Linked DNA regions of Homo sapiens: region 1 is linked to region 2. Evidence: promoter capture Hi-C in 16 types of primary human blood cells and fetal thymus (Javierre and others, 2016). All regions are on one chromosome and are shown on one strand. The core of a region is centred on a gene start or on the middle of the fragment in contact, and the rest is flanking DNA. Distances in the headings are between cores, read along the strand shown. Region 1 overlaps FHIP1B (FHF complex subunit HOOK interacting protein 1B). Region 2 holds the start of TPP1 (tripeptidyl peptidase 1).

Region 1 (7,231 bases), core at 4,067-6,566, 400 kb before region 2:
TAATTTATTTCTATGTCTTCTACCTCATACACTAACCTGTGAACTTAAGGGCCTAGACTGTGTCTTGTCTACCTTGTCTACCTGGCCCCTCTAAAGTGACCCCAGCACCAGAACTGTAGAAGGAAGAAATATTCACAATACTAGACCATGAAGAAACCATGCAAAAGAACTTTACCTGAGACTTCACAGCTGTGCAGTAACTTTTATGGTACTCTCTTCCCAACCCATACACTTTTCTCATTAAGCCTCCATCTCTGCTTTCAGCATATCATTTTGCCTTCTACTTCGATTAGTAAATAATGAATGATGTGAAATCCCTTACTCCTCTACACTTCACAACTACATTGGCACATGTCAATTCCTCCTTGCTCTCTCCTCATTTTCCTCAAAGGGAGAAAAACAAAAAGCCTTTTCCTGTCCAAAGTTAATCTTTTTCTATTGCTCTCAATCCCATTACTCCCAACACCTTTAGGACCTTGCTCCTTCTGGTATTACGTTCCTCTAGTCACTCTCCAGATTGTACATTCTTTGAAGGCAGAAATTACATCTTGTACCTCCCTGAATTCCCTGTACTAAAGACAATGCCCGGCACACATTGCAAATGTTCAAGATACCTGTTAAGCGAAAAGTCTAGATTTAAAACTTCATAACGATATTTAATTCTTCCTCCTTCCTTATACCACTCACCAAACTCCACCAACACTTCCTTCTCATTTCTGCCTCATTAAATGCTTCCCTTCCACGTCCACTATTCTAATTCAAGCCTCCCTGGTAACATCTACATTATAGCAGAAGCCTCCTGATGCTTCCTGACTCTTTTCTCCTAGCTTGACTGCATCTGAGCTAACATACTAATCTCTCCACTTCCAGATTTAGAACTTCCAGTGGTTTTTCACTGCCTAAAACATCCCAACTTCTACTCTGAGAAATTCAGCTCCAGCCAAATCTCTCCAGCCTTACTGCCAATTATTCCACCAACTTTTAAATCCCCTACTCCAACTAAACAGTCCAGGACCTCTCCTGAAAAAAAAAAAAAAAAAAAAAAAAAAAAAGATTCCCCACTCCTTTGCCTACCTAAGTCCTACCCATCTCTCAAGGCCCATGTCAAATGTCATGTCCTTTACTAAGCTGTAATAATATCGCAACCTAGAGACTACTCTGTCCTCTTTCTTGTCCCCAAATTCTAGAGTAGTTTTTGCTAGAACTGCTGATCTGGCTCTTAATAGATAGAACTATGTTCTGTCCCCTGACCAGAAGCCTGAGAACAAACATGAAGACTCAATTTTCTACAACTCACTAGGTCCTGGCACAACATTTCACTCTTAATAAGAGCTCAATTAACCTGGGTTAATAGGCTATCTAGGGAGGGCAGGTACGGGTGTGGTGGGATAGGCCTCACCTAGGGGATCAGAACGGCGTGGGGCAGGTCCTGCTGCAGGGCCCTCAGCCCAGTCCAACTTGCCACGGGCAATGAGGTACTTCTTGGCTTTGGACAGCAGTGCTGGGAAGTCCTCCTGGGAAGCCGCAAAGTTCTCAATCTTATTCTTCACAGAGCCCAGCACCTATGAAGCACACCTTCGTGACATTTCTGAGCAGCTCTAGACTGATACAGTCCTTTCTAGTCCCACTGGGCCTGTTCCCAGCCCACCCAGGGTCACTCCAGCTGCGGGCCTGGCCCACCACGGAGCCTGGACGCACCCATGCATGCATGCATCGCACACCTGCAGCAGGGACTTGACACTGGGCTGGAAGACCATGTTGGTGTTGAGCAGGAAAGAGCGGAGCAGGGGCTGGGGGTGACAGGCCAGCTGGGCCACCAGCCCCGTCAGCAGGAAGTTGACATAGACGGAGTTCTGCAGCATGTTCTCGAGTTTGGCAAAGAGCACAGCCATGAAGGGGCCTGGGTTGGGGGGGAGGTGGGCACAAGGATACAAAGCCTGAACACAATGCACATCGCACGCATTCCTCCCCAAAACAAGAGACCCCCACCAGATGAAAAGTATTTGTATGTCAGCCTCTGGGTATGTTTAAATATCCCGTGGCCACCTATTCTGGAGGAAATAAGATGGCAGACACCATATGGACCCACAAGATTCCAGATGCCAGCTTTACACACATTCAAGCTGACAAGCCAGATCTTAGGCTCTGGACTCTGAAAGATCTGGTTTCACTGGCTTTGCCCTTTACTAGTTTGGACAGGTCAAAATTGTCCAAGCCTTAGTTTCCTAGTTCGTAAAATAGGAAAATATACCTACCTCATAAGGTGATGAAGAGGATCAAAGAGTTATCAATATAAAGCATTTAGCCTCAGATCTGGCAAATTTTAAGTGTTCAGTTATAACCATAAGCTACAATTACATATTGTTTTTATAAAAGATTCACCCAAGAGGCACAACAGAAGAACAAATAGGTTGAGAAAGTAATTAGGTCCAAAAAGAATTAGGTTCCACAAAAAACGGAGGATAACACTAAACCTGCTCAGAAAGAAAGCTAGAAGATGGTGTTGCAAAGACAAAGTAACTATGTGAGCCAATTTAAAGTTAGGGAAAAAAATATTTGGAGGACCAGAGAAGACATCAGTTTTGTCTTTCAGAAGCTGGGAACCAAGACGGTGGAACAGAATATGTAGTAAAAGGATAGCTTAGTGCAGGGGCAGAGAAACTGACTGAGGACAGACTCTTTGGTGGGAGAGAAGGAAGGGAAAGGATCAGCATTATCCACTGGGAAAACTGACCTCAGCTAAGCCAGATCACCAGCAGTAGGCCTCTATAACCATCACAGTCCTTCTGATTAGGGATTTTTTTGGGGAAAGGGAGTATATATCTAAGAACTGTACTATGCATTGAGACAGGAGAATGATGGAGGGCAGGAGGGAGTGAATCCTGAAAAAGATGCTAAAACATTTTTCACTCCAGGTGCACATGTCTAGCATTAGCTTCAAAACAACTCTAGCTTAACAGAGTCCTAAGACGCCCCATAATTTTGTCCTGTTCCTTTCATTTCCTGGAAGTTTCTTGGAAAAAAAAAATTGAAAAGCTCAGATAAGTTTACCAAAGGAAAAAAAGACAAAAGCTTCAATTAATACTTCAAGACTGTGGTAAAACCTGCACGCTATCACCTAGTGGTACTGAGCTGAAAGGAACAGAGCAGAGGCTAAATAAATGGAAAGATAGATTTTCTGTAGGAGGCAAGAAGAGGGAATTGGCACAACTCCATGGCAGAAGCCCTGGTGCTGTATGAGCAGGATGGCCAGCATCTCCCAGGCCCAGTCAGGACATGAACTTATCAAGGCATGACAATCTGACTATGAACAACTGGAAGATGAGTGTTTGCCTTAGTCAACTTAAATCTGCTATGTACCCAGAGATCCTAGTGAAAAGCTACCACTTGCTGAGTTCTCACAATGTGCCATAATTGTAGTAAATGATTTATATGCATCTATGGCAGAGATGGGAGGCTAATGTAAGGTATGCCTAATCCAAGGCCTGTGATCTTAGCCTTAGCTACTACTTCTCAGAGGTGGGTTTGTTTTTTGTTTGGTTGGTTTTTTTGTTTTTTGGTTTTCCTGGCCTGAGGTTTAGAATGGCGGGGTAAGCTGGCTCTCATACAAAAACAAAGAGGAGTTAGTCCAACCACTCAGATCGAGTCTAGCTCCAGGGCATCCTTGAGAGTCCAAATGAACTCAGTCAGGGAGCTCAGGGCCACGCTTTGTCATTTGCCTTCAAAGAAATTGCACTCTATCTGCTTAAGACAGTCTTAGTGCTAGCAGACAGTCACAGCAACCAAGAAGGTACAAGGAAAGCGAACAGGAAAAACTTGAAATCAAGTCCTTCTTTGAAGAGGTGGGGAGGAAGGAGCTGAGTAGGGAGAAAAATACCAGAAGGTTAACCTTAGGCCCCAGGAGAGCTGACAGAAAACCCAAGACCCAGACAGATAAACTGGACGGAATGGCATAGAGAGTGTTTAGGTGCCTCTCCATACAGGACAGCACATACGTCTTCAATATGGTTCAGAAATATTGCTGTGATTCACCAGGAAACATCAAACACAGAATATCCTAATTACAAATCGCAGGAAATGGCCAGACTAGGGAAAGAGGAGGAACATGCACATAGGACATACATACAAGGCTCAGATGTAAGTCAATACTCAAACCAGCACAAGCATGGAAGACGTACAGACAGACACAGGGACACAAGTATGACATGACACGTATCTGGAAGTGATGCAAGCAGGATGGATGAGGGGCTAGGCAAGTACACAGAAATGACATGGCCAAGAGGTCCAAGAAACCAGCACAAACATGTCGAGAACATGCAAAGAGTACACAGAAGGGAAGGCCTAGGCTAAGTAGCTTACCAGTGAAGGGCTGGCTTGGCAGCTGGTTGAGAGTCCGCAAAGGGCTGCTGAGGAAGGGGCCAGGGGGCTCAGGGGGACAGGTGAAGCTCTCGTAGGCCTCCTCCTCCTCAAGGGGCAGTGGAGGTTCTAAGGGGGACTCTGAGCCAGTTCCCCCATTGCTCAATGCCACCTCTAGCTCCCGGAGCTCCTGCCCAAAGCCCTCTAGTCCTGCCATGCCCTCGGAGATGCCCTCTAGCAGTTCCCCAGCTCCCTCCTTTGGCACCAGACGAACCTTCTTGGCCCCCTCAGGCCATGATCCTGGCACTCCATTGAGCTGGGGAGGGGGCAGGTGACCAGGGCCCTCCCCTGCACCCCCAGCCCGCCCCCTCCTCCCCAGCTCTTCCTCCTCCCCTTCCCCCACGTTGTTCCTGTCCTCCTCAGGCAGTAGGCTGCGTTTCTTAGTCCGGGAGCCAAAAGGACTGGGCTCAGGAGAGGGCCGCTCGCCATCATAGGGGGCAGACCAGGTACGGCAGGCTCGGACACAGCGGTCCACACCACGACGTGCCTCACGCAGATACTCCAGGTAATTGTCTTCCAGCTCTCCAGGCTCCTCTGCAGGGGTAGGCCGTCGGCCAGGGCTGGAGGCGGGGGATGCAGAAAGCCCTGGTGAGCAAGGGGCTGGGCCTGGAGACTCAGAGCCACCCAGGCTCTGCTGCCGCAGGAAGAGAGCCAGACGAGATGGTGTGGAGGGCCGGGGTACTGTCGTCACAGAAGAGGAGTCCACACTTGGGCTTCCAGGACCTGCAAAGGGAAAAAATATAAGAGAAATCAAGGAGACAGAGGTTCAGAAGGAGAGATAAGACACCTCGGGAGACTAAGAAAGAAGACAATGGGGAGGCAGAAACATGGAATCTATTCAGACAGCTAACTCTCCAACCTCCTAATTAACCTTATCCTCATCCACCACCCCCACTCACCACCATCACCACTGAAGACACAATGGAAACAGGAAGAGTACACGACTAGAGAGAAGAACAAGAATAGCTTTGCCCAGAAGTCCCACTCTAATTTTCTTTGGTGAGTGTTAAGGGTCCTCCCTGCAAGACACCCTCATCAACCTCCCCAAAGACAGACTATCATTCATGGACACCTTCCTCCCCTTCACCCCAGCCCCTCCTTGCTACGCTCCCCCAGAACCTAGGCCATACCCGTGATGTCCTCCCTTCTCCCTGTCTCTCTGCTAGGCCCACCTCGTGCCCATGAGGCATGCTCTGGACGAGGTGGGCTGGGGGCGTGGTGCCGACAACAGCGTGGGATTAGGGAGAGAAACTTGTCAGCTGCTCGTCCATATAGGTCCACATCACGAACAGCCGGCTTCTGGCTCAGCATAACGTGGTTACATGGAACAAGATACCTGAGAAAGACATCAGAAAGGGGACACAGGGTAGATCAGGAAGGAAGGACAGGGCCTAGAGGAACATCAGGCCAATGAAACTGCATGGTTAAGCCAGGCTCCAAGTGGAAACTCATGAGTAACCCCTATATAGCCCATTGCCCCAGCAATGCATAAGACTCTGAGGCTTCAGGGTCAGCCATCCCTCAGCCCTGCCCCAACAGATACCTGAGAACCAGCTGCAGCAGGACATCCTCACAGCTGAGGTTCAGGAGGGTCCTGAAGAGACTCAGAGAGACCATGCAGAGCTGGGGGGGTGGAGGGGAGGGAGGGAGTCACCATAAGAGCTCTCTGCCCTCCAAGCCATTCACCAAACGGGAACCCCACCAGCCCCAAGTTGGCCCAACCAACCACTCCTAGAGGAACTCCTAGAGGACCATGTACCATGCCTGGCACATAAGTCATTCAAGTATTAGCTAGATGATCACACGATCTTTGCGAGCAAGACTTTGCTATTCATACAAATGAAGCATCTCAGACCCAATGGACTTCTATAGACTCTCTAGCTATATATACCTGGTCAGCAGAGACTCCAGCAACACTTGAACGAAAATCCATGAGAAGAGACTAAGAAATACTGTGATTGAGTGAATGACTAACAGGAGACAACAGAAACATGGTAATTAAGTGAATGCCTGCCAGAAGGGACTGTAGCAATACAGTAACTGAATGCCTACCAATAAGAAACTAGAGGGAACCGGGAAGATTCCCAACTGGGAAGTAGGTGGGGCTGCAAACATGAAGTCTGAGTCACCTCTCTAACACTAGTGTATCTCTCAGAAGGCAGGATAAAGAACAACTCAAGCGCAGCTGACAGGAAAAGGAAAAAGTAGGTGGGTCAAGATTAGAGGAAATCTTTTATTTTAGAAAAGGAAGAAGGTTGGTTCATCTCTGACTAGGTAAAGAAAACACATATGTAACCTTTCCCTCACTTCTCTGAATCTTCCTAGCACTTTCTCTATACTTCCCTTACAGCAAGTGTGTCAGACACCTTGAGCTCCCTGAAGACAACGAATGGGTCTTGGTCTAGGGCACTACCTGAACAGTTTAGGCATTCATTATTTGCTACATGACCACGGGAGAATTAAAAGTCAACCACACAGCAAGAAAAACACGTGACAGCAGTTCACATTTTGAATAGCATGGATGTTCAGGAGGCTATCCTAAATGACCACTTTAGCTAGCAATGAAAAAATTCAGACTCACTGAAAAGTAGTAAGTGGGTAGAAAAGTGGTCCCTCAAAGATGCTCACATCCTAATCTCCAGACCCTAAAAATATTTCACCTCACGTGGCAGAGACGACTTCGCAGATGTGAGTATCCTAGATGAGATTATCCTAGATATCCACAGATAATAGAGATCCATAGATATCTATTATCTATGGATGAAGGGGGGCCATGAGCCAAGGAATCTGGTTGCTCTACAGGCTGAGAATGTTC
Region 2 (2,859 bases), core at 1-2,500:
ACACGATGGTGAGTCACTGTTTCCTGCCATGCACACTAGTGTCACACTGCCCCGTCCCCAGCCTCTGCAGTTCACAAGCACACACTCCCCCTGCTGTGAAGGGCTTTAACCAGGAGAAGGAACCAATCCATTTTGACTGTTGGAGAGACTGTTTTGAAGCAGAGTGGGGGAGTACAGTGAGGGGTGGGGTGGAGGGAGGAGACTGCAGATCAGCTGGGGAGCTGGGCAGTAGTCCAGGAGTGGGAATAAATAACGGAGTTGGTCGTAACAAAAGACGGCAAGAAGGAGATTAATCCAAAGGCTCTTTGGGAGTTAGAACTGGCAGCCTTAGTATGTGAACAAAAGAGGAAATTAGAATGGATTTGAGGGTAGGGGAAGGAACGTAAGTTGTACTAGATGCCTGGTAGCTAGTAAGTAGCAGAGTCAGAATTTGAGTTCGTATTTGATCATAAAGCCTGTATACTGAACCACATCCCCTTTTAGGTTTCTAGCCTGAGGAACACAAGTGTCTTGGCAGGCTCTGACATGATCGCCATCCCATGCCCAACCCAGCCCTGTGTCCCTCCACCGCATCCCACATCCTGTCCTCAGTCCCAAAAGGCACCGTATTGAGGAGAGCTGGGATCCGACACAGCCTGCACCAGCTCCGAGAGTCTTTCCACATTCTGCTGTCTCAGGGCAAAGGTGAGACTCAGCTCTTCCTCAGGGTCCGCACGGCCCAGGGACACCCAGCCTGGGGGCAGCCTGTAGGGTCAGGGGTCAGGGACATGGCTTTGGTTAGGGTGGAGATGGAAAATATTGGTCATGGAAGGTTCCAGATTAGGAGCTGAGACCTTGGGGAGGATCCTAGGAGCAGATACAGATCACATGAGGTGAATGATAGGGGACTGAGGCTAGGAACATAGAGATGAAGCTATGGAGTGCGTACTAGGAGCTGGCACGGGGGTGAGAGAAGCTAGGACCAGGACAGTGGGAGGCAGAACAGGGTATGGGGAAGGGGGCAGTCTGTGCTAAGTCAACTCACGTCCTCCGCTGGTCGGGCTCCGGGCTGTAACTGCATTTGCCAGAGAGGATGAGGGCAAAGAGCCCTAGGAGGCTGTAGGGGCAGCAGGTGGGTTTCAGTGGGAGCTACGTTGTCCTTGTGTTCCCACCCTCCCAATGTGTGCTCCCTCCAACGTGATCCCTTTCTCCCGAGCCCTCTCAATTTCTCACCAGGCTTGGAGTCCCATTCTGCCCTTCCGCGGATCTGCTGTCATGTGACGGATCACATGAGCTCTATATTCCACCACCACTACCCCTCTGCCTAGTAACTAGTGACGGTACTGGCTCCTCCCTTGCATGGGTGGTCCCAAATGCTAGGCAAGGGTGGGGCCGCCACCCGGATTCTCCCCTCTGGCCAGTCAAGCACTGAGTAAGCCCAGGGCTCCCCACCTGCGTCCTGAGCCTGGTCCCCTGGGAATCACCACAAGTGAGTGGGCTGTAGAGACCCACAGACTGGGGTTCTTCCTAGCTGTATGACATCAGCAAAATAACCTCTCAGAGCCTAGGTTTCTGCATTTACAATATGGAGACTTATATAAAAGTGATCTGCCTCGAAAGATTGCAGTGAAAAAATTTTTTTCCTCTTTTATCCTTTATGTCCCCATATTATCAATTTTGTCTTCATTTTACGACTACATTTATGAACAGAGTAAAGCTTTTGCAAGACCAGGATCCTTTTATTCAAATCAGTTTCCAGTTTTAAGTAGCTTCCCAGGAGATCTACAATCAGCTGGGGTCCTGTTTATTATGGGTTCCCAAGGTTTTCAAGGAAATCAACTTTGTTCTAAGGGCCATGGAGGAATCTTGCATCTTGTTTAGTGGGCTCAGGTGGATAAAATGGAAACGGACCTTTGCTTCTTCTAATGGTAACTCAAAGCCCACAAGGAGGTCTGAGTTTACTACTTCCAACTGGGGTCATTACAAGAGGATTTTCAATGAGAGTTAAAACCCTGAGGATTCAATTCCCTTCCAGTCTTCCTTTTTTTCCCCCCAAAAATCCATATGGAAGATGGTGTCAGCAGTGTCATTTTAACTTCCAAAACCATTAATCCAATACTCATGTGAAATCCCTTGTTCTGACCTCAATACTTTTTAGATAGATCCCTCTACTCCTGCTGTTGTCCTACAGGCCACTGGCTTCCATTAACCTATAGATTATATTCCCACACTGAAGATTATGGCACTTCACCTTTCTGTCCATCCCAACTCCTGCGATCATTTGACCTAGATGATCAAAATATCTAGGTAAAAGACCCATTCAACACCCTAACCTTCCATTTCTTCATCTCATTAAACCCAGTGAGCATTACCTTCACTTCACTTAAGCAAACCAGTCCCATGGCTGCATTGGGCTTGCTATCTCTCAAAACTGCTCTACCTTTGAAATTATAATTATAGAATGCTTTCTTAGACTATAACCTTCTGTTTTTTCAAGCCATTGTTTTTCCTCACTCCTATTAATCTGACTTCTCTCTGTCCATTGATCCCTCCAGTTTCCCACTAAGCGTGGATCCTAGAGCTGTATTTACTAGCATCATGCTCAGAAACATTTCCCTTTGACCACAACTTTTTTTTTTTTTTCTAATTTCCTCAATCTCATGAACTTCTCAAACACTGGCCAATTGCCTTTCCCTCACAGCCTGGCTCCCCAAAGAACAGGCAACACCAGTGGTTCCCAAATCCCTTTGTATGACTGTGAAAATTTACACTGAGATTAAGCAAGGCAGCCACCTGCAGAGAGCCTGACATGACAAAGGCTCAACAAATTGAGCTCTTTTTACAATGTGGATTTTTAGTGGCCCCCAAGAAGAACAAATA

Evidence for each region. Contacts are between HindIII fragments. The CHiCAGO score rates a contact against its expected background, and 5 or more counts as called.
Region 1: a fragment that was not itself captured here is called in contact with the fragment with the promoter of TPP1 in region 2 in 1 of 17 cell types (M2 macrophages); the score reaches 5.1 in M2 macrophages.

Annotation. Positions count from the first base shown.
Region 1 is chr11:6,213,012-6,220,242 of GRCh38, forward strand. It overlaps FHIP1B (FHF complex subunit HOOK interacting protein 1B), which reads right to left. Exons shown (of 12, transcript NM_001098794.2): 7 at 5,960-6,039; 8 at 5,589-5,752; 9 at 4,360-5,139; 10 at 1,722-1,900; 11 at 1,400-1,562. Among named protein-coding and RNA genes, the nearest start is that of C11orf42, 11 kb to the left of the region's middle. The HindIII fragment of the contact is 4,493 bases long and covers 3,071-7,231 here.
Region 2 is chr11:6,618,172-6,621,030 of GRCh38, forward strand. It overlaps TPP1 (tripeptidyl peptidase 1), which reads right to left and starts at 1,251. Exons shown (of 13, transcript NM_000391.4): 1 at 1,213-1,251; 2 at 1,025-1,096; 3 at 605-744. The coding sequence starts at 1,229. RefSeq lists a silencer at 972-1,021 and an enhancer at 1,572-1,621. The HindIII fragment of the contact is 1,700 bases long and covers 1-1,694 here.